Linked DNA regions of Homo sapiens: all the other regions are linked to region 1. The links are contacts of gene promoters, found by promoter capture Hi-C in blood cells and fetal thymus (Javierre and others, 2016). All regions are on one chromosome and are shown on one strand. The core of a region is centred on a gene start or on the middle of the fragment in contact, and the rest is flanking DNA. Distances in the headings are between cores, read along the strand shown. Region 1 holds the start of C12orf56 (chromosome 12 open reading frame 56). Region 2 holds the start of HELB (DNA helicase B). Region 3 has its middle 3.9 kb from the start of TMBIM4. Region 4 overlaps TMBIM4 (transmembrane BAX inhibitor motif containing 4). Region 5 has its middle 18 kb from the start of LLPH. Region 6 has its middle 57 kb from the start of AVPR1A. Region 7 holds the start of AVPR1A (arginine vasopressin receptor 1A).

Region 1 (2,882 bases), core at 185-2,684:
GGAGGCTGTGGCAGGAGAATGGCTTGAACCCAGGAGGCAGAGGCTGCAGTGAGCCGATATCATGCCACTGCACTCCAGCCTGGGTGACAGAGGGAGACTCTGTCTCAAAAAAAAAAAAAAAAAAAAAGTTTAGCCAGACCAAAACATTTCTCTTTCCCTTTGTACTAGTGTAGTCTACAATATCTGTTTATGGATTGTAATATATTTATACCTTCTTTCCACAAGGGATTTGAAGTTGCTTATAACATACAGTATACAATAATAAAATATGTAGAAAGGGAGAATATAAAGAATATATCAAATTTGATTCAGGGTTGCTGGCAGCCACAGCAATGAACGATATGGTTTCATTATCAGGTTTTTGGGTCAATGGGGAGGGGAAGAGAATAACTTTTCTAGGATTCGAAATAAAAAATGGAACTTCTGACTTAGAGCATTTCTGTTGTGCCCTTCTCATTTCTCTAACCTAATTAGTAAGTTATTCTTGGCCTGTAAAAACTAAGGAATACTTACTCCTCTGCAGCCTCAGGGTATGTAATCCGCATTCTTCAGTCTATCAGCTTCAACTTTTCAAGATGCCAGCATCACCCATTCATTCTTCCTGCATAGATTGTCCTGGGCATTGGAAACAAAACCATATGCCTTAGGTTGGTTTGGGTGTGCTCACATCAATTCATGTGAAGAATCCCTTTCTCAAAGGCTGGGCGAGGTGACTTAACGCCTGTAATCCCAGCACTTTGGGAGGCCGAGGCGGGCGGATTACCTGAGGTCGGGAGTTGGAGATCAGCTTGACCAACATGGAGAAACCCCGTTTTTACTAAAATATACAAAATTAGCTGGGCGTGGTGGCGCATGCCTGTAATTCCAGCTACTCAGGAGGCTGAGGTAGGAGAATCGCTTGAACCCGGGAGGGGGAGGTTGCGGTGAGCCGAGATGGCGCCATTGCACTCCAGCCTGGGCAACAAGAGCAAAGCTGCGTCTCAAAAAAAAAAAGAGAAAAGAAAAAAAAAATCCCTTTCTCACTGGTTGGAGAAAGAAGACCTATGTTTACACTCCGACAATATCAGAAAGCTGTGCCAGGCCATGTTATAACCAAAAGCTAAATCTGTGTGATTGGGTTTAATAGGTTTCTAGGGTTGTTAAAAATAAATCGGTAAATTAAACTCTTTCAAGTTTCTAACAGGAAACCAGATTGAAGCTGGCTTCCATTACCAATAAAGTTTGTATTGGATGGTGTGATCCGCAACAGAGTACGCAGTGGTGGGGACTGGCATTAGGGGTGGGCGGGAGAGACCCTAAAAATCCACCGCCCTTCGGCCGCAGGGGACTTCACGGTGATGAGCCCGAGGTGCCCATCAACTCGGGCCTGAAGGACCAGCGTCTTGCCCCGCCCATCGCCGTCTGAGGTTAGGACAAAGATCGAGAGGCTGGACAGGGCTGGGGAGGGCGCTCCAGGGAAGCCGACCTAGCGTCGATTCCTGCAGTTGCGGCCCGGGTCCCCGCGCCTGGAGAGGAGGCGACGCGTGGCCGGCGGCTTTGTGGCGCGCGGGTTCCAGCGCGGGGGCGGGGAGAGGGCGAGCTGAGGGCCTCGAGTCCCAGCACTCCGCCACGCTGCGGGCGCCGGGCATGGCCAGCCCCTTGCCGTCCGGCTTCCCCGCGCGCAGGAACAGCCGCCTGGATGTGTTCCTGCGGCGGCATCTGCCGCCCGAGGTCTACGACGCGGTCCGCGCCTACGAGCCATGCATCGTGGTGTCCAACTCTGAGAACCACATCCTCAAGTATGTGGTGCTAAGCGACCGGCTCGTCTACCTAACCGAGAACCCGCCCAAGTCCATCCGGCGGGTAGTGGCTCTGCGGGACGTCGTGGCCATTGACCTGGTGAGCGGCGCGGGTGGGCAGGCGGGCTCGGGAGCGCAGTGAGAACTCCCGGCTGGGGCCCCCAAACCCAGCCCTCCTGCGCGGGGAGGGCTGCCCCATCCTGCCCTCGACTCCCCTCCTCTTATTTGAGAACGAGGAACACAGGGAAGCTGTGGATTGCTGTGAGCACTCCTAATACAAACACGTCTCCCATTCTCCTCGTGTCTGCCTGTTCACCCATTCTCCCGCCTCCCCTACCCCACGTAGGGCTACAGGTTTGAGAACCGAGCTCCCTATCAAAAATACCTTTTAAAGTCATTCCTTTGTTAACAAAGCACCTAGTCAGTGCCAGGCACTGTGCTAGACTCGGAGGATGCAAAAACGAAAGAGGGCCCCTACCTAGAAGCAGTCGCTGGAGGGCTAGAAAGCCAACACCCGTGCAAATAAATGCTGTGTGTTAAGTGCTGTTATATCTCATTTACTTTTTTGCCCCCGATGCTTAGAGCATGTTAGATGCTCAATAAGAATAAATGCATAAGGCCGGGTGCCGTGGATCACGCCTATAATCCTTACACTTTGGGAGGCCAAGGTGGATAGATCACCGGGGGTCAGGGGTTCGAGACCAGGCTGGCCAACATGGTGAAACGCCGTCTCCACCAAAAGTACAAAAATTACCCAGGCGTGGTCGTGTGCACCTGTAATCCCAACTACTTGGGAGGCTGAGGCACAAGAATCGCTTGAACCTGGGAGGCGGAGGTTGCCGTGAGCCGAGATCGCCCCACCTGCACTCCAGCCTGAGCTACAGAATGAGTGAGACACCGTTCCCCTCCACCCCCTCCCCAGCAAAAGAATAAATGCATGAATAAGCAGATGCGTTAATGAGATGCGCACAGGACGCTTGGCAATCTCAGGCGGCTCACTTGATCCAAACTGGGCGCAGGGCCTGCTGGGAAACGTCTTGGAAGGAGGGGCGTCGACGCTAGGAGCTGGGCTTGAAAGACGTCGGGCCTGCCACAGCCTGTCGC
Region 2 (2,882 bases), core at 383-2,882, 1.9 Mb before region 1:
CTATGCTAGTGGTAACATTTTAAACACTGTAGTTATTAAGTATGTCAATTACACTGAAAGTTGATGATAAAAATCACACTTACTTGTGTTTTCCAGAGGAAGACTCATCTCATTGTCTAGGAACAACTCTTCCTGACCATTCTGTGTAGGCTGCTTTTGATCTTTCCTTCCAGTTTCCTTGTGGAAAGTTCTTAGTGTTTCCCTAAGATTTTCAAAGTTTAGGTTTTTGTAGTTTGATACCTCCTTTACCCATGTTAAAAATTTATTAACATCATCACTGGAGACCTCACACTCTTTAAGAAAGAGAGCACAGATATGTTTTTGATTTGGTGGTGACATATCAGACTGCAAAAAGTAAGACGGAAATCCTTGAACTTGATATTGATAGCTCCTTGATCCCACCACAGGCTTTACTTGTACCTTCACTCTCCACCAAGCACCTGTTATCGGAAAACGTCCAAACACTTTACATGTCTCTTGTGTGTTTTCATCACAAATAGAAACTAAAAAAAAACAAACAAAAACCCACAAAAGTTAACTCTGGAGATTATTTAGAAACCGTTTCCTCAAAGTTTCATCAAACTTACCACTATCTTTAATCTCCCTACAGCACTCTCTAAAGATGTCTGGTAGGGTGCCTGTAACACTGCATTCTGCCTACCTCTTTTTCTGTCTCCCTCCACTACACTGTAAATACTAAAACAGGACACTGTTTCGTTTGTCTTTGTATTCCAAAACGCAAGCACAGTACACAGCAGGTGTCTGCTGTTCCTCTTCTAAAATCAGTCCCCTCTCTGCTACTCTTGACTTCAGCCAATACTGGCCTTCATGCAGTTTCTTTAAAATGCCATGGCCCTTCACTCAAGTTATTCCATCTGCCTTAACTGATCTCCCCTTTACTGTTTACTACATTTACTACAGACCTCAGCTTAACTATCACTTACTTAGAAAAGTCTTCCCTGAATCTCATGTATAAAACCTCTCAAAGCACTATTTAGCATTCCTTCTAAGCATTTAGTAACATTATAGTTACTTCTGTGATTAAAGAATGTTTGTTTAATACACTAGAGGGTAAGCTTCATTAAGACTGCAACCTTGTTATTTTATTTCTCTAGGTTTTCCCAGCACCAAACATGCTAGCCAGTTGATGATACTTTAGAATGACGACTAAGCCCTCCACAAATACTTGAAACTTTTCTGCCTAAATCTGCGCTGTCCACCCACGTGGCTATTTAAATTAAAATGTAATAAAACTTAAAATTTCTCTCCTCAGTTACACTAGCTGGATTTCAAGTTCTAAACAGCTACATATGGCTAGTGGCTATTATACCAGACAGTGCAGATATAAAACACTGCCATGATCATGGAAAGTTCTACTGAACAGCACCGGTCGGCACATTAAAATATTTTAAGTCTCAGTCACAAAGTATACATAACAGGTATAACTTATAGCACAGGAAACTACCTCATAGCACAGGAAACTACTTATACAAGGTTTACCCGAACCACAAGGTTACTAACACCAATTAACAATCATCTGTGCACTGAGGTGTTCCTTGTGTTTCGTTTTTCTTTTTCTTTTCTTTCCTTTTCGTTTTTTGAGATGGAGTTTCATTCTTGTTGCCCAGGCCGGAGTGCAATGGTGTGATCTCAGCTCACTGCAACCCCCACCTCCTGGGTTCAAGCAATTCTCCTGCCTCGGCCTCCCAAGTAGCTAGGATTACAGGTGTGCGACATCACGCCCGGCTAATTTTGTAGTTTTGTTGTTGTTGTTGTTGTTTTACTAGAGACAGGTTTCACCATGTTGGTCAGGCTGGTCTCGAACTCCTGACCTCAAGTGATCCACCTGCCTCGGCCTCCCAAAGTGCGTGAGCCACCGCGCCCGGACTGTTTTGTTTTTCCAAGAAGCTGAGGAAGAACCACGTATTTGACTCCAGGCAATATAGGATAATAATTACAAGTTCTCATTCTATAGAACTTGAGGATAAGTGGTCAGAAGGAAAAATAAAAGTTCCGATTCTGGGTGGAAATAGAGACTCAACATCCACTGTTTCCTTAAGCGTAAAACTACCTTACATTAAAGGTACATTAAATTAAAGGACGACCATTAAAATGAGAATAATTTTAAAAAAAAAAAAAAAAAAAAAGGGCAACCCGCTCGGGTCCCCTTCCACACTGTAGAAGCTTTGTTCTTTCGCTCTTTGCAATAAATCTTGCTGCTGCTCAAAAAAAGAAAAAAAAAAAAAAACCACATAGTATGTGTCCAGTTAAAGTCACTGCTATTATTATAGTCATAATTTTACCCTTGGTAGGATGAAGCAGCTAGACCACTGATAAGCTAAATCTGTTAGCACGACTGGGTGCCTTGCTCAGGGCAAAGCCAGAATGGGAAGCGCTACTTTGGACCCTCCAACCCCATCCCCCGGGCAGACGCCTTCCTCACCGCGGAGGCACCCGGGGAGGCTGCCAGCCTTTACGCCCCCACTGCAGAGCTCCTCGGCGTCGATGAACACGGACTCTTCATCCTCCTCCACGTCGTCGTTTAGGTAGTCGTCGTCCTCCTCCACCAGATCCCTGGGTGGGAGCAGAGGTCCCTGAAGTTGGCGCAGGTACGGACTCGACCTGGCCATGCTTCTCCTGAACTCAACCCAAACAACTCGGGAAAACCCTGGCTAACTGCATGGTCATGATCAGCCAATCAGTTCTACGACTGTAAGGCCATCAACTTCCGGGAACGGCCTGGCGGCCGCCAGCGTACATAAAACCTGAAAGGCAGCGAAGCTCCGCCCCAAGTTTCCAGGAATTGCCGAGGGGAGGGCATGTGGAAGGGGCGGGGCAAGGCGGGTTAGGGGCGGGGAAGGGAGAGCGAGGGGCTGGGAGAT
Region 3 (2,882 bases), core at 144-2,643, 1.8 Mb before region 1:
ACAATCTGATCTCTCTTTCTTTTCCCCACATTTCCCCCTTTTCTTTAGGACAAAACCGCCATCGTCATCATGGCCCGTTCTTGATGGTGGCTGTCTCTTCGGAGCTGTTGGGTACACTTCCCAGACCAGGCGGCCGGGCAGAGGCGCTCCTCAATTCCCAGACGGGGCGGCCGGCCAGGCAGAGGCGCACCTCACTTCCCAGAAGGGGTGGCGGCCGGGCAGAGGCCCTCCTCACCTCCCAGACGATGGGCAGCCAGGCAGAGGCGCTCCTCACCTCCCAGATGGGGCGGCCGGGCATAGACGCCCCTCACCTCCCAGACGGGGCGGCCGGGCAGAGGCGCTCCCCACCTCCCAGACGAAGGGCCGCCAGGCAGAGGCGCTCCTCACTTCCCAGACGGGGCAGCCGGGCAGAGGGGCTCCCCACATCCCAGACGATGGGCGGCCAGGCAGAGATGCTCCCCAGTTCCCAGACGGGGTGGCGGCCGGGCAGAGGCTGTCATCTTAGCACTTTGGGAGGCCAAGGCAGGCGGCTGGAAGGTGGAGGTTGCAGCGAGCGGAGATCACGCCACTGCACTCCAGCTTGGGCAACACTGAGCACTGAGTGAGCGAGACTCCGTCTGCAATCCCAGCACCCCGGGAGGCCGAGGCGGGCAGACCACTCGAGGTCAGGAGCCGGAGACCAGCCTGGTCAACAGGGCAAAACCCCGTCTCCTCCAAAAATACAAAAACCAGTCAGGCGTGGTGGCGCGCACCGGCAATCCCAGGCACTTGGCAGGCCGAGGCAGGAGAACCACGGGAGCCTGGGGCAGGGAGGCTGCAGCGAGCCGAGACCACAGCAGCACAGTCCAGCCTCGGCAACAGAGGGAGACCAAAGGTGAGGGCGAGGGAGGAGGGAGGCAATGATAGTTTTAAATACAAATTTAAAAGGGCGTTTAATGCATATGTGGAATCACCAAAATGACACGATTTGTATTTCATAGCTTGTACATATTTATTTCATTCTTATAAGAACTGTGGAAAATTCACACAAAATTAAATCAATTATTTTTATTTCACTTCTTCATACATGCAAACTATATCAACACTCTCTACCTTCAGCTTATTGCAAAGGATAACCTGAAAAGAAAAGGAACTATGATTGCCATATCTTTCCCTTTCCTTCCGTGTCTTTGAGTGTAAGTGGTTGACATTTACAGGGAAAGAACACAAGTAAAAAACTATGTGGGCTGGGCACGGCGGCTCACGCCTGTAATCCCAGCACTTTGGGAACAGAGGCGGGCAGATCACGAGGTCAGGAGATCAAGACCATCCTGGCCAATATGGTGAAACTCCGTCTCTACTAAAATACAAAAAAATTAGCCGGGCATGGTGGCGGGTGCCTGTAGTCCCAGCTATTCGTGAGGCTGAGGCAGGGGAATCGCTTGAACCCAGGAGGCGGAGGTTGCAGTGAGCCGAGATCGCGCCACTGCACTCCAGACGGGCAATAGAGCAACACTCTATCTCAAAAAAAAAAAAAAAAAAAAAAAAAAGGATGTGACAGCCTGTAATCCCAGAGCTTTGTGAGGCCAAGGCTGGAGGATTGCTTGAGGCCAGGAGCTCAAGACCAGCCTGGGAAACACAGCAAGACCCTGTCTCATAAAATTTAAGAAATTAGGTCCGGGCACGGTGACTCACGTCTGTAATCCCAGCACTTGGGAGGCTGAGGTGGACGGATAACCTGAGGCCAGGAGCTTGAGACCAGCCTGGCCAACATGGTGAAACCCAGTCTCTACAAAAAATACAAAAAAGTTAGCCGGGAGTGGTGGCGGATGCCTATAATCCCAGGTACTTGGGAGGCTGAGGCAGGAGAATTGCTTGAACCCGGGAGGCGGAGGTTGCAGTGAGCTGAGACCTGCGCCATTGCACTCTAGTTTGGACAAGAGGGAAACTCCATCTCGGAAAAAAAAAATTAGTTGGGCATGGTGGCATGCATTTGTAGTCTTAGCTACTAAGGATGCTAAGATGGGGTGAGCCCTTAAGCCCAGGAGTTTGCAGAGAGCTATGATTGCACCACTGCCCTCCAACCTGGGCAACAGAACAAGACCCTATTAAGAAAAAAAAAAGGATGTGAAAAGATTCCTTGGTCATTCATGTTTCTTAAAACGTCATTGCTTTCCTTCTGCATTCAAAGTAAGTTCTCCTCGGTAAGGAAAGCTAGGCCTCTTGGGGCTGTCTGTGCCTTCTCTTCTCTTCCCTTTACTAAGTCACAAGTGTGACATGCTTATCTTTTACTAGCTTTGAGTCTAGCTTAACTCCCAAACATTGCAGGTCTAACAGAATTCTGAGCTCATGGGGCATGCTAAATGCTTAAATGCAAATGATTGGCAGGAAACAGTGGACATCCACATTGTGCATACCTCTTCTATTCATGTTCATGTTCCATTGTACTTTCAGACTTCACTTACAAAACACATGTTCAAAGGCAAAATTACTAAGTATTTCAAAATGGTGACAGCTGAGCATTAAACCAAGTGCAGAGTCCTTCGGAGTCCAGGGCTCTGTGCAATAGCATAGGTTGCACACCTTTTAAGTCAGCTCTTATTTGAGTTCTAGATAATCCAGTTTTGCCAACACTTGATATTATCAATCTCTTAATTTTAATCATTTGGTGGGTGCTTAGAGATATCTAATTTTGGCATTTATTTACATTTCTCTGATCAACTTTTCATATATTAGCCACTTGGCTGTGTGTGTGTGTGTGTGTTAGGTTCCTGTTTCAGTCTTTTTTCCTTCTTTTTTTTTGTTTTTGAGGTGGAGTTTCGCTCTTGTTGCCCAAGCCAGAGTGCAATGGCGCGATCTTGGTTCACCACAACCTCCACCTCCCAGGCTCAAGCAATTCTCCT
Region 4 (2,882 bases), core at 139-2,638, 1.8 Mb before region 1:
ATATTCTGTTTGTGTCACAAATTACCCTAAACCTTATTGGTTTAAAAGAATAAACATTATCTCAGTTTCTGAGAGTCAGGAATATGGGTAGTTTTAGTTTAGAGTTTGTCCTAGGTTGTGGTCAAGATATTGGCTAGTGCTGGTCATCTGGAGGCTTGACTGGGGGTGAAGGATGTGCTCCCAGGCAGGCTACTCACAGGGCTATTCATAGGAGTCCCTAGTTTCTCACTGGCTGTTGGCAGGAGACCTCACTTTCCTCCCACATGTGTTTTTCCATAGGGTGCCCTTAGTTTCCTCACAACATAGCTGGCCTTCCCTGAGTATGCATTCTTAATGGGGTGCTATTGACCCCATTAGATGATAGTTGGATGTAAAGATCTAAAAAAAATCTTAAGATTTTATAATGGTGTATATCCTTCCAAAGGGCGATGGTACAACAGATATATAGTATATTTGTGGCATTAAAATTTTATTGAGGGGGCTATTAGGAAAAAAGTACCTAGAAGGCTACTTAGGCGGGGAATAATGAAAACAAGGTTGAGAAACACTGTCCCAGAGGAAATGATCCAAGAAAGAGCAGGAGGAAGCCATAATCCCTTTTATGACTTGGTCTTAGAAGTAGCACCCTGCCACTTTTGCATCATTCTTTTTGTTAGGACTCACTTGAAGGGAGTGTCAAAGAACTGTGACTTACCATAAACCACTACTTCATGTAAAGAATGATAAGGGCATTCCAAGTAGAGGAAAGAGCAAGTGCAAAGGCCCTGAAGCGGGAAAGTGACTAATGTGGGTAAAGCATGGTGAGGAAGAGAGAGAGTGCTGAGATGAGATTGGAAAGGTTCTACATCATGTGGGACCTTGTAGGTCCTATAAAATCTTTCACATTTTATTTTAAGTGGAACGATTATTTAAGTATTTAAGCAGAGTCACATGATATGGTTTACTTTACATAAAAATCACTTTGACAGAGTGTGTGGAGAAATAGGTGGGACAAGAGTGAAAGCATGGGGACCAATCAGAAGGTTCCTCCAGTGGTCCAGGTGAGAGATTAGGCACACTTTGACTAGGGAGGTAACAGAGGAGACCAAAAGAGGCAGATACGTTGTACTTTCAAAGGTAGAACTACAGTAGTTGCTGATAGATTGGGAACAGGGAGGGGGTAATCAAAGATGACTTCTATGTTTTTGGCTTGGATGATGTTGGTGCTGGTTATCGATGAGAACACTGGGAGAACAGCAAATTTGGATAAATGAAGAGCTCCAGTTTTGGCCATGTTAAGTTTTGAGATGTCAAATAGAAGGGAAGAAATCAGGACTCAACAAAAATTGGAAAATCTTGCTGTTTGACTAGTATTCTTTTCATATTGAATCTTTTATATTTTCCTGAAAGCTGTATATGCATGTCCTTTGCTACTTTTTATATTATTCACAATGGGTGTCAATACTGCTTTTGCCTGGGATTTGGCTTATGATACTAAAGTATAGAAAAAGTTATGGTCTGGAATATCTGCATAAGGAGAATTTTTTAGTATGAACTTAAAGGCTTAGCACGAGTTTCTTTAAAATGTTTTTAATTGCAATAGTAATACATACTGCTGGTATCTAAAAAATACAGATTAGTAAAGAACTGAATATGAAAATTATCCTTAGTACTACTGCCCAGGGTATACGAACACCTGGATGTATATTATTCTAGTCTTTTATTACATATGCACTTGTGTACATATATACAAATAAACATTAGATCTTAATGTGCACATTGTTTTGAACTGTAAATCAGTTTTACAAAATGGTAAGAAATAACACTAATTTCCACTGCTTGAGAGAATATATATCATATGGATTGGGTTTGAGTTATATGAGGTACATAATAGGGTATCAAAAGTAAAGAATACATTCCAGGGCCAGTCACGGTGGCTCCTGCCTGTAATCCCAACACTTTGGGAGGCCAAGGTGGGTGGATCACTTGAGCCCAGGGGTTCAAGACCAGCCCGGGAATGTGGTAAAACCCCATCTCTACAAAAAAATTAGCTGGGCGTAGTGGCATGCACCTGTAGTACTAGCTACTGGGCAGGCTGAGTTAGGAGAATTGCTTGAGCCCTGGAGATTGGGGCTGCAGTGAATCATGATCATGCCACTGCACTTAAGCCTGGGTGACAGAGTGAGACCCTGCCTCTCTCTCTCTCTCTCTCTCTCTCACACGTGTGCACACACACCCCATCCTGGTGTGGGCCTGTATTCCCAGCTGCTTGGGAGGCTGAGTCTAGAGGATGGCTTGAATCCAGGACATGGAGGCTGTAGTGTAAAGAATATGATTTTTTTTCTCATAGCCCAGAAAATCCCTTGCAGGTGTAATGGCTTGACCTTTGGTTTAATAATTAAATTTGCAGAAAGATATCCCAAATAACATTGTCCATGCCAGTAGTATATTCTTTACTCTGCTTTTATGAAAAAGATAGAAATGACCTCCCAAAGCATTCAGACATCAGGGCCTTTTTGAGAAAGTAAGTCATAGATCTGTTGTGGAGTTGAGAACTGTTTATCTCTAAGCCAAAATACAATGGACACTCAGTGTTCTTATGAGTCAGTGGTTAAATCATATGCCCAGTAAAATCTGTTTAGGACATCAGGAAAAACTCACTCTAGATTTTGGAAAGAGTGCCAGAGGGAAAAATTAAGTTTAATATTTAGGCATTTTGATTATTAAATCCTTAGTATTCATGAAAATTCCCTTATTCCTGTGAAAGATTTTGTTTTTTTAACTTGATATTTGGCTGACATGCCATCAAAGCACTTCACCCTTCCTTGGAAAGCCAGGTCTTTAGTAGGAATGTTTTTCAAAAGGAACATCCACCATCTAATGCTCATCTACCATGAGCATTG
Region 5 (2,882 bases), core at 141-2,640, 1.7 Mb before region 1:
CTTTTCTGCCATGCTATGGAGCAGCAAGAGGCCCTCACCAGATGCGCTAACCTGATCTTGGACTTTCCAGCCTCCAGAACTCTGAGCTAAGTAAATCACTTTTCTTTATAAATTATCCAGTCTCAGGTATTCTGTTATAGCAACAGAAAATAGACTAAGATAGTATGCAAATGGGCTGGCCCTTTGTTTTTGTAAAAAAGTTTTATTGGCACAAAGCCATGTCCACATGTCCATGAATTGTCTGTGAATAATTTGTGCTACAAAGGCAGAACTGAATAGTTGTGACAGAGATTCTTGTATAATCAGCAAAGCCTAAATTAAAATTTGGCCTTTTAAGAAAAAGTTTGCAGACTGCTGCTTTAAAATATTTTCTATAGCAAGAAGTACCACTACTGAAAAGAAAAATGAAAAGTAAAAAAATAAAATATTTTCTGTTTGTTAAATGAAGGCTTTTGTTCTTTATTTGAAAATTCAGGTGAGTTGGATCTGGTTTTATGTTTCCATCCTGTTGCATTTTATATTTGGAGAATCCCTCCAAGTTTCTTATTGGAAGGCAGTTGTATTAAAAAAAAAAAAAATAGACAAGCTTACCCTCACTCTGTATCAATGCAAGGCAGGTGGTACCAAAAGGTTGTTTGTATGTTTAGGTGTGTTCCCCATCTGCCACCTCAACTAAGCTTCTTTTAGTCTTTGGACTTAAAAAAAAAAAAAGATTGTCCCATTGTAGAGCTTTTTTCACAAATCTCATAACTCACTTTTCCCTTAAGTCTACAAACAATTTTTGAAAATGTTAAATGCTGGAGAAAGAACTCTGTTTTAATTTAATATGGCACCTAGAATACTGGCACATGTAAAGACATTCCAATTTAGTTTGATTTGGTGGGTGGTCTAGCTGAAAATACACTTACAGGTTGGTTTCATTAATAGGAAATTAATATGGACTAAAATAGTCATAGCATTTAAGGCTGGAAAACGTTTTAGAGATCATCTATTTTAACTTGTGCTTCTTAACAGATGAGGAAACTGAGGCCAATTTCCCCAAGAGGTTAGTAGTTCATGGCAGAGACCAGGAGCCCAAGAGTCTTTGTATTCACAGACCAATCTTTTTCAAAACCATAAATAGGTGACAATTAACCACACAAATAATAACATTTGGACTAATGTCAAAATTAATTGTATTCTTTTCTATAAAAGAGGGGTTGTTAAATAAAGCTATGGTGTGTGACTAGTGATCTTTTCTGTAGGTCTGTTTCTGCCGTAGTTAATAACCAATCCTTTCCCATTGGTGGCTGTGCCTCTTTGTTCCACAGGTAGTATAACATCTTTTACTTGAAACAAAACAAAACAGCAGTAACAAACTTCCCCCCTCCCCCATGCCCTCCATCAAAGGCCAGATTTTTTTTGTTTTTGTCTCTACTCTTTCCCTTCTAATTCATCTTGTGTGGTTGTCAACTTCTTTTTCTTTCCATAACTTTTGTTGTTTTTTCTCATAAAAGTAACACATGTATGTTGGAGAAAATTTTAAAACCCAAGAAAGTATAAATGAAATAAATAATTCATAATCCAACCACCCAGAGAATGTGTAGCTCTGTGTATATTTTCATAATTGTCTTAATACTGTATAATTTTATATTCTGCTTTCTTAACTTTATATCATGGGGATTTTTTTCCCATGCTGCTGGAAATTTTTTAAGAGTGTTGTTTGAAAAGTTCCCTCATTCTGTCTTGTGATAAACTATATATTTTTTTATTTGTCTACTTTTGGACATTTAATTTTTTTCTGAAAAAACTTTTTATTTTTGCTATTAAAATACTTCTCTGTAATATTAATGACCTTACATGTAAGTCTAATCCTTATCTGATTATATTCTTGAGGAAGGGTTCTAGAAGAGTATGAACTTTTCTTTAAGACTCCTTATCTGTATTGCCAAACTGCTCTCCTGAAAGGCTGAAACAATTAGTAATCCTTCCAGGAGTGAGTGAGTGCTTGTCTGGGGTACCCTTGAAGGGTTGTAAAATTTAAGCCTTTTAAAACATTCCTTTCAGTAAGTCATTCTCCTGCTAGGAAACTTCCCATGGCTGCAAGACCAAATTGAAGCTTCTTAGCATACTCTCTTCCATTTCTTCACTTCCAGTTGATTTCACAACCACTGCAATCTGGCAGGTCTAACATTATATTGATGTCTAATACCAGGAGTGACAAATTGGTACCCTTGCCCTGGAGAGACTTTGTACAGTGTTCTGCTTTGTTTTTTTGATGAGATTGTTGCCTTTAGATGGGTCAGACACTTCTAAAGTGATCTCTAGCTAGACAGTCCCTTTTGTTTGACACACACTGACCGGCCCTGGGAGGAAACTGCCTTAGGTAAACCCATGCCACTTACGCTCTGTAATCTCTTTTCCTCACACACTCCATGGCTGTCACTGCCAGGGCATCTTGGCTTCTACTGCTTTTTCCTGAGAGAAAACAGTAGATATTTTATTGTGGTAAAATATACAAACATAAACATTTATCTTTTTAACGATTTCTAAGTGTGCAATTCAGTGGCATTAAGTACCTTCACAGCGTGGTGCAATCATCACCACTGTCACTACTGTTTCCAGAATTTTTTATCATTTCAAACAGAAACTCTGCACCCATTAAACAATTACCCCCCATTCTCCCCTCCCTCCACCCCTAGTCTCCACTATTCTGCTTGCTCTCTCTGAATTTGACTACTCTAGATACCTCATATAAAGGGAATCATGGAATATTTGTCCTTGTGTGTCTGGCTTCTTTCACTCAGCATCACGTTTTCAAGGTTCTCTATTATCCATCTTGTAGTATGCATCAGTACTTCATTCCTTTTTAAGGCCAAGGAATATCTCATTGTATGCATATA
Region 6 (2,882 bases), core at 249-2,748, 1.3 Mb after region 1:
AAGTGGAGTTAGAGGGAGAGGAGAAGAAAAGGTAGAGTTGAAGGGAAAGAAAAAAAAGGGGATATATGAGCAATTGTATAATACAGGATTTAGTATTAGTCCTCCCATGGTCCTCCCACCCTACCCTGTCATCACTCACCTCATATCTCTTTTCCTTTACACCTTGATAAATGTTCTAGATAGATCCAATCTGCCATGCGATTTGAGCATCTAAATTTAGTCCTTGAGACTTTCTGTCCTGTGACATCTAGGATAGCTTGACTGGAGTAAAGTTGGAGGCTACCATCACACCAAGGTAATTTCCTCTGGGATCTATTTTTCCTTGACACCAGAATTGCTTTTGAAGAAAAATCACCTGCTGGGCGTGGAGGCTCATGCCTATAATCCCAGCACTTTGGAAGGCCAAGGTGGACAGATCACCTGAGGCCAGGAATTCAAAACCAGCCTGGCCAACATGGTGAAACCCCATCTCTACTAAAAATACAAAAATTAGGCAGGCGCGGTGGTGGGCTCCTGTAATCCCAGCTACTTGGGAGGCTGAGGTAGGAGAATCGCTTGAACCTGGGAGGCGGAGGTTGCAGCGAGCTGAGATTGTGCCACTGCACTCCAGCCTGTGCAACAGAATGAGATCCATCTCAAAAAAACAAAAACAGAGAAAGAAAAGAAAAAAAATCACCTACAGCTGGTATTCTTCTACAAAAACATTACATTGCAAGCATTTTGCACTAGAAGGGAACAAAGTTTTTTCCCACATTTTTTCCAGTGAGAGCAGTTTTGATACCTGGTAAATGTTTGAAGAACCAGTAATTTTATATGAAATTGCAGCCTTTCTTCTAGGTGATATTTCTAGCTACAATTTCTGCTGTAGTCTCTAGCAATATTTTCTGCTGTTATCTGATTCCTTTTTATTTTATCATCATGGAGTTTGGGGGTGTTTGCTTTTTTTGTTTGTTTTAACTAATTGTCAGCACTTCTGGGTTCACCATTACCCTGACCAGGCTAGAGACACAGCTACATCAGGAAAAGCAGCAGAATCTCAGCCCCTGAAGATCACTCACACCCAGCCACATTCTTTCTCCTTTCCTTCCATCCCCACCCCTCCCCCTTTCTTCCTTTTTAGCTTCCTTCATTTCTTACCCACAGCCCTTTCTTTCCCATCTCAGGAACTACATGTGAGTCCACATGGAGCTGTGCTCTGAATCATGTCTCTGCTCTAAAAATTATGGGTTTCTTCACTATATCAAGCTTGTTTCCTGGACTTCCCAGAGAATTAGATCTCCCCTAGAAGACTCTCAGCCCTCTGTGCATGTAAGCTCATGACAGACCCACTTCATCACTTACTCGGGTATCTTTATACTGGTCTGAATCACACTGATGGAGAAGTCTTAAGCTCAAGGACCAACCTCTTAATAATGTACATAAAATGATGTCTTGACGTCTAGGGAAGCCTTGGAACAGGATTGTGGTTGGGGAATGAATCAGAGGAAGCTCTGGCCTCCCTACAGTCTGAAAGTCTTTCTCCCTGCTCTCTCAGGCATTAAGGGCCATCTTGTTTTCCCCTCAATAGACCCTGAAAAAGAATGTCAGATTTTTCAGCATGAAATATCTACAAATTAAAAAGGAAAAAAAAATTATCTTGATAGTATTGCCTGCTAGAAAACGGTAAGGGAAAAAACCCAGTCAGTCCACAATTAAGGATAGAGAACTAAAGTTAATACTTGTGTAAATGTAAAGACATAGAACCAAGCTTTACACTTCTGTTCATCCCCCTACCTCAGCGAAGCAAACAAGCAACCAACCAATGACCTAACAAACAAACCTACTAGCAAACTATAAAAGGGATCTGCTGTACCATGGAGTTGGAAATTCCCTGGGAAAGGCAGGCAGTGAATCTGGTTTGATCAGGACTCTGGCTCCACTTGTCTGCAGCTCTCTTGGCTCTCTCTCCTTCTTATATGGGCTTAGTCTGCAAACTAGCTGCTCTCATGATCAAAAGATGGCTGCCAACAGCAACCAGAACTGCCTGCTTCCTTTTTCATATCCACGAAGCCCTAGAGCTTCACATAGATTGAGCCACCCATGTGGTCATTGTCATATCATGCACTGATTGACTCAGACCTGGGTTCCCTCAACCAATTTTTGTGTCGTGGAAGATGAGAGTATCCTTCTGGGGTAAGCAGCTGGAGGTGGGTCAATGCAGCAGAATTATAGGGCTACTACACAGTAGGGAGAACAGTGATGTCCCAAAGAGAAGTTTGGGTACTGTTAGAAGGTGGAAGGAAAAAAAAATTGATGTTGCATAGGTAACAGGTCAACTTCACCCACAGTTGGGGATTGCCCACAGAGTATCAGCACTCAGCATGTCCCTGATGAGTGTGTTGTTTCATGAACTTTTATCAGCTAATTTCCTATAAGTCCACCATTTACTTTCTGAAAGTAAATGTAACTGAAAGTCACCTAGCTCCCATTACTCCATAACAGTATTACTACTTTAAGAGAATGGGGTGGAGTCATTTCAGAGAGAATAATGCAGTTCTACATCCTGCCCCATAAGTGCACACTGTGAAGAATGATTGTTAATATTTCAGTGTGACTACTGGTTGTTGAATTCAAAGGCATGCCATTCCCTGAAGTCAAGATCATTTCAGCATCCTCATCTTCAGTGCCTCTCTCTTAATTTTATTTCCACATTGTAATTCCTTCAGAGTTAATTTTCTGCTGTAATATGCTATGATGCAGCCTTCTGAAATTCAAGTCCTGACTGTTTTCCACATTTCAAACATACTTTCTTCCCAGAGTCAAGTAGAATCAAAACTCAGGAGACAAGGCCTTGTCTCCTGAGTTTTTATTATCATTCAACAAGTCTTTTCCCAGCAGTCTTC
Region 7 (2,882 bases), core at 255-2,754, 1.2 Mb after region 1:
AAATGAACCAACACAACACAGCTTTCAGTTTTTAGAGCATTTCCCCCATACAGAACATTGTCTTACTTGATCTTCCCGATGACCTCAACAACAGGAAAGGCAGGTCCTTTCATTTCCATTTATAAGACGCACAGACCCAGGATTATCTAGCCACAGGAAGCAGGACTCCAGATTTCAAGTCCAGCATCTCAACGTGACAACCTTGGTAACTCTGCATGAACGGACTGGATAGTAAAGTGGAATTATTACTGAGAACTGCAATGAATAAAATCTTTTGCATTTTTTGCCTACGTTTCACAGAGGGTGATATTTTTCTGAGGCAATTAAATTTATACCACGGCCACAATACTGAAACGTTCTGACCAACAAAGTCATGCTCCTGCATCTACACAGCAGATAACTGCAGAAACGGCTTCCTTTCTTCCTTGTAAAATTGCCTGAAAACAGCTCCCCCTTGCTGTCCGTCGAGGCATATCTTCACCAACGTTAAAACAGAGCTGAGGGAGATCGCATTTCTGCCTCCCTCCCGCCCTGCAGAGGGGCTCCAGCTGTTCAGAGTAACGGATTACTAGGTAGGTGGTTGTTTCCCCTCCTTCCCAGGGCCTCTTTCCTCTCTTTGAGATTGCCTCTTTCTTACTCCTGAGCACAGGAGCCGGGCGGGTTTTCTGTCCCTTGCCCTGGACAGCACTGCCTGGATGGCCGCTGTCCGGCAGCTGCTCTTTGTCCACCCAAAAAGATGTCCCCACGACTCAGTAGTAACCAGACGGTCCCCACGGACCACTGCGGCCAAATTTCCGCCATCCCCGCTGTGGGAATCAGGCTTTTCCCGCAGAAAACCCCAGGAATCTAGAGAAAACTCCTTAAGTCCCTAGTCTCCATAGAGAAAACCAGGAGACACTCCCCCCAAACCCCGCTGTGAATACAGGCACAGCAGCCACTGGGGCTGCAAAGTGATGAGTGCGTTCTTCCCGTCGCAAACATAGGGTAATAAATAGCATGCATCAAAGACGTTACTAGGAAGAGATAGCTCTTTAAGTCACGAGCGGGGAGAAATGTTTGCCCCGGGAAAATTTGCCTGGGGAATAAAATTTGCCAGACTGCTGCACGGGTGAGCTCGGTGAGAAGGAAGAAACCCGGACTGGAGGAGGTGAGGTCGAGAGCCAGGTTCAGGTGCAGGAGCTAGATGCGTGGACGCCGGTGCGTGGACTGGAGGTTTCCAGGTACCGCGCTTAGCGTGCCTGTTGAAGTCAAATGCATGGTTAAGGAGGCTAGCGAGGAAGGCTAGTGAGGGAAGCTTGTGGAAACGGCTACGAGCCCAGAAAAGGCATGACTCGTCCAGTTGTCCAAGTTTTTGGAAGGGAAAAGCGGGAAAGCGCCACGATCCCACCTACTGTGAGGAGGAATCTGCGAGTCTCCCAGCTCCACCCCCTCCACAGTGATGCAGAGGACAAACACCGACGTAGGGAGAGGAAAAAATAAAACTCCAGGGAGCGGGGAGTAGGCAACCAGCAGTCTTCCGGCAATAGGGCGGGAGGGAGCGCGTCCCAAGGAAACAAGCACCGCATAAATACTTGAGTTGGGAACCCAGTGCTTCCGGAAGCTCGGAGCTCACCTTCCCGACCTCGCCGAAGTTGAAAAAAGGCAGAGCAGGGAGAGGGGCCAGCTCACCCTGCTGAGAGCTGCTCAGTGGGCAGGCGGGACGCTGCTCCGGGAGACGCCCACTGGAGGGATCGCAGAGCCCGGCAAGCTGCGAGCGCGCCAAAGACCCTGCGCTTCGGACGAGGAGCCCAAGTCCTCCGAGACGGGGAGGGAGCGGCCCGCGAGGGCTGGAGCTCCGAAGAGGGCCGAGTAGGAGCTGCATGGACAGCATGCGTCTCTCCGCCGGTCCCGACGCGGGGCCCTCGGGCAACTCCAGCCCATGGTGGCCTCTGGCCACCGGCGCTGGCAACACAAGCCGGGAGGCCGAAGCCCTCGGGGAGGGCAACGGCCCACCGAGGGACGTGCGCAACGAGGAGCTGGCCAAACTGGAGATCGCCGTGCTGGCGGTGACTTTCGCGGTGGCCGTGCTGGGCAACAGCAGCGTACTGCTGGCTCTGCACCGGACGCCGCGCAAGACGTCCCGCATGCACCTCTTCATCCGACACCTCAGCCTGGCCGACCTGGCCGTGGCATTCTTCCAGGTGCTGCCGCAAATGTGCTGGGACATCACCTACCGCTTCCGCGGCCCCGACTGGCTGTGCCGCGTGGTGAAGCACCTGCAGGTGTTCGGCATGTTTGCGTCGGCCTACATGCTGGTAGTCATGACAGCCGACCGCTACATCGCGGTGTGCCACCCGCTCAAGACTCTGCAACAGCCCGCGCGCCGCTCGCGCCTCATGATCGCGGCCGCCTGGGTGCTGAGCTTCGTGCTGAGCACGCCGCAGTACTTCGTCTTCTCCATGATCGAGGTGAACAATGTCACCAAGGCCCGCGACTGCTGGGCCACCTTCATCCAGCCCTGGGGTTCTCGTGCCTACGTGACCTGGATGACGGGCGGCATCTTTGTGGCGCCCGTGGTCATCTTGGGTACCTGCTACGGCTTCATCTGCTACAACATCTGGTGCAACGTCCGCGGGAAGACGGCGTCGCGCCAGAGCAAGGGTGCAGAGCAAGCGGGTGTGGCCTTCCAAAAGGGGTTCCTGCTCGCACCCTGTGTCAGCAGCGTGAAGTCCATTTCCCGGGCCAAGATCCGCACGGTGAAGATGACTTTTGTGATCGTGACGGCTTACATCGTCTGCTGGGCGCCTTTCTTCATCATCCAGATGTGGTCTGTCTGGGATCCCATGTCCGTCTGGACCGGTACGTGCCGGGAAAATAGAGGAAAGTGCAGGGATAGGAGTGTG

The links. Contacts are between HindIII fragments. The CHiCAGO score rates a contact against its expected background, and 5 or more counts as called.
Region 2: a fragment that was not itself captured here is called in contact with the fragment with the promoter of C12orf56 in region 1 in 1 of 17 cell types (activated CD4 T cells); the score reaches 8.7 in activated CD4 T cells.
Region 3: a contact is called between a fragment that was not itself captured here and the fragment with the promoter of C12orf56 in region 1, in 2 of 17 cell types (non-activated CD4 T cells and activated CD4 T cells). The highest score is 5.3, in non-activated CD4 T cells.
Region 4: a contact is called between a fragment that was not itself captured here and the fragment with the promoter of C12orf56 in region 1, in 1 of 17 cell types (non-activated CD4 T cells). The highest score is 5.4, in non-activated CD4 T cells.
Region 5: a fragment that was not itself captured here is called in contact with the fragment with the promoter of C12orf56 in region 1 in 1 of 17 cell types (total B cells); the score reaches 5.6 in total B cells.
Region 6: a contact is called between a fragment that was not itself captured here and the fragment with the promoter of C12orf56 in region 1, in 1 of 17 cell types (M2 macrophages). The highest score is 6.8, in M2 macrophages.
Region 7: the fragment with the promoter of AVPR1A here is called in contact with the fragment with the promoter of C12orf56 in region 1 in 1 of 17 cell types (M2 macrophages); the score reaches 5.8 in M2 macrophages.

What each region holds. Positions count from the first base shown.
Region 1 is chr12:64,389,310-64,392,191 of GRCh38, reverse strand. C12orf56 (chromosome 12 open reading frame 56) reads left to right here and starts at 1,434. Exons shown (of 13, transcript NM_001170633.2): 1 at 1,434-1,878. The coding sequence starts at 1,627. The HindIII fragment of the contact is 6,871 bases long and covers 1-2,882 here.
Region 2 is chr12:66,302,352-66,305,233 of GRCh38, reverse strand. HELB (DNA helicase B) reads right to left here and starts at 2,741. Exons shown (of 13, transcript NM_001370285.1): 1 at 2,444-2,741; 2 at 84-503. The coding sequence starts at 2,630. RefSeq lists enhancers at 1,411-1,720, 1,751-1,850, 2,482-2,561, 2,622-2,671. The HindIII fragment of the contact is 1,108 bases long and covers 1,079-2,186 here.
Region 3 is chr12:66,172,432-66,175,313 of GRCh38, reverse strand. No RefSeq gene overlaps it. Among named protein-coding and RNA genes, the nearest start is that of TMBIM4, 3.9 kb to the right of the region's middle. RefSeq lists silencers at 288-490, 2,138-2,338. The HindIII fragment of the contact is 4,498 bases long and covers 1-2,882 here.
Region 4 is chr12:66,154,651-66,157,532 of GRCh38, reverse strand. All of the region lies in intron 1 of TMBIM4 (transmembrane BAX inhibitor motif containing 4), which reads left to right. Among named protein-coding and RNA genes, the nearest start is that of TMBIM4, 14 kb to the left of the region's middle. The HindIII fragment of the contact is 5,078 bases long and covers 1-2,882 here.
Region 5 is chr12:66,111,018-66,113,899 of GRCh38, reverse strand. No RefSeq gene overlaps it. Among named protein-coding and RNA genes, the nearest start is that of LLPH, 18 kb to the left of the region's middle. The HindIII fragment of the contact is 1,421 bases long and covers 680-2,100 here.
Region 6 is chr12:63,092,455-63,095,336 of GRCh38, reverse strand. No RefSeq gene overlaps it. Among named protein-coding and RNA genes, the nearest start is that of AVPR1A, 57 kb to the left of the region's middle. The HindIII fragment of the contact is 502 bases long and covers 1,248-1,749 here.
Region 7 is chr12:63,149,823-63,152,704 of GRCh38, reverse strand. AVPR1A (arginine vasopressin receptor 1A) reads left to right here and starts at 1,504. Exons shown (of 2, transcript NM_000706.5): 1 at 1,504-2,838. The coding sequence starts at 1,869. The HindIII fragment of the contact is 3,248 bases long and covers 1,297-2,882 here.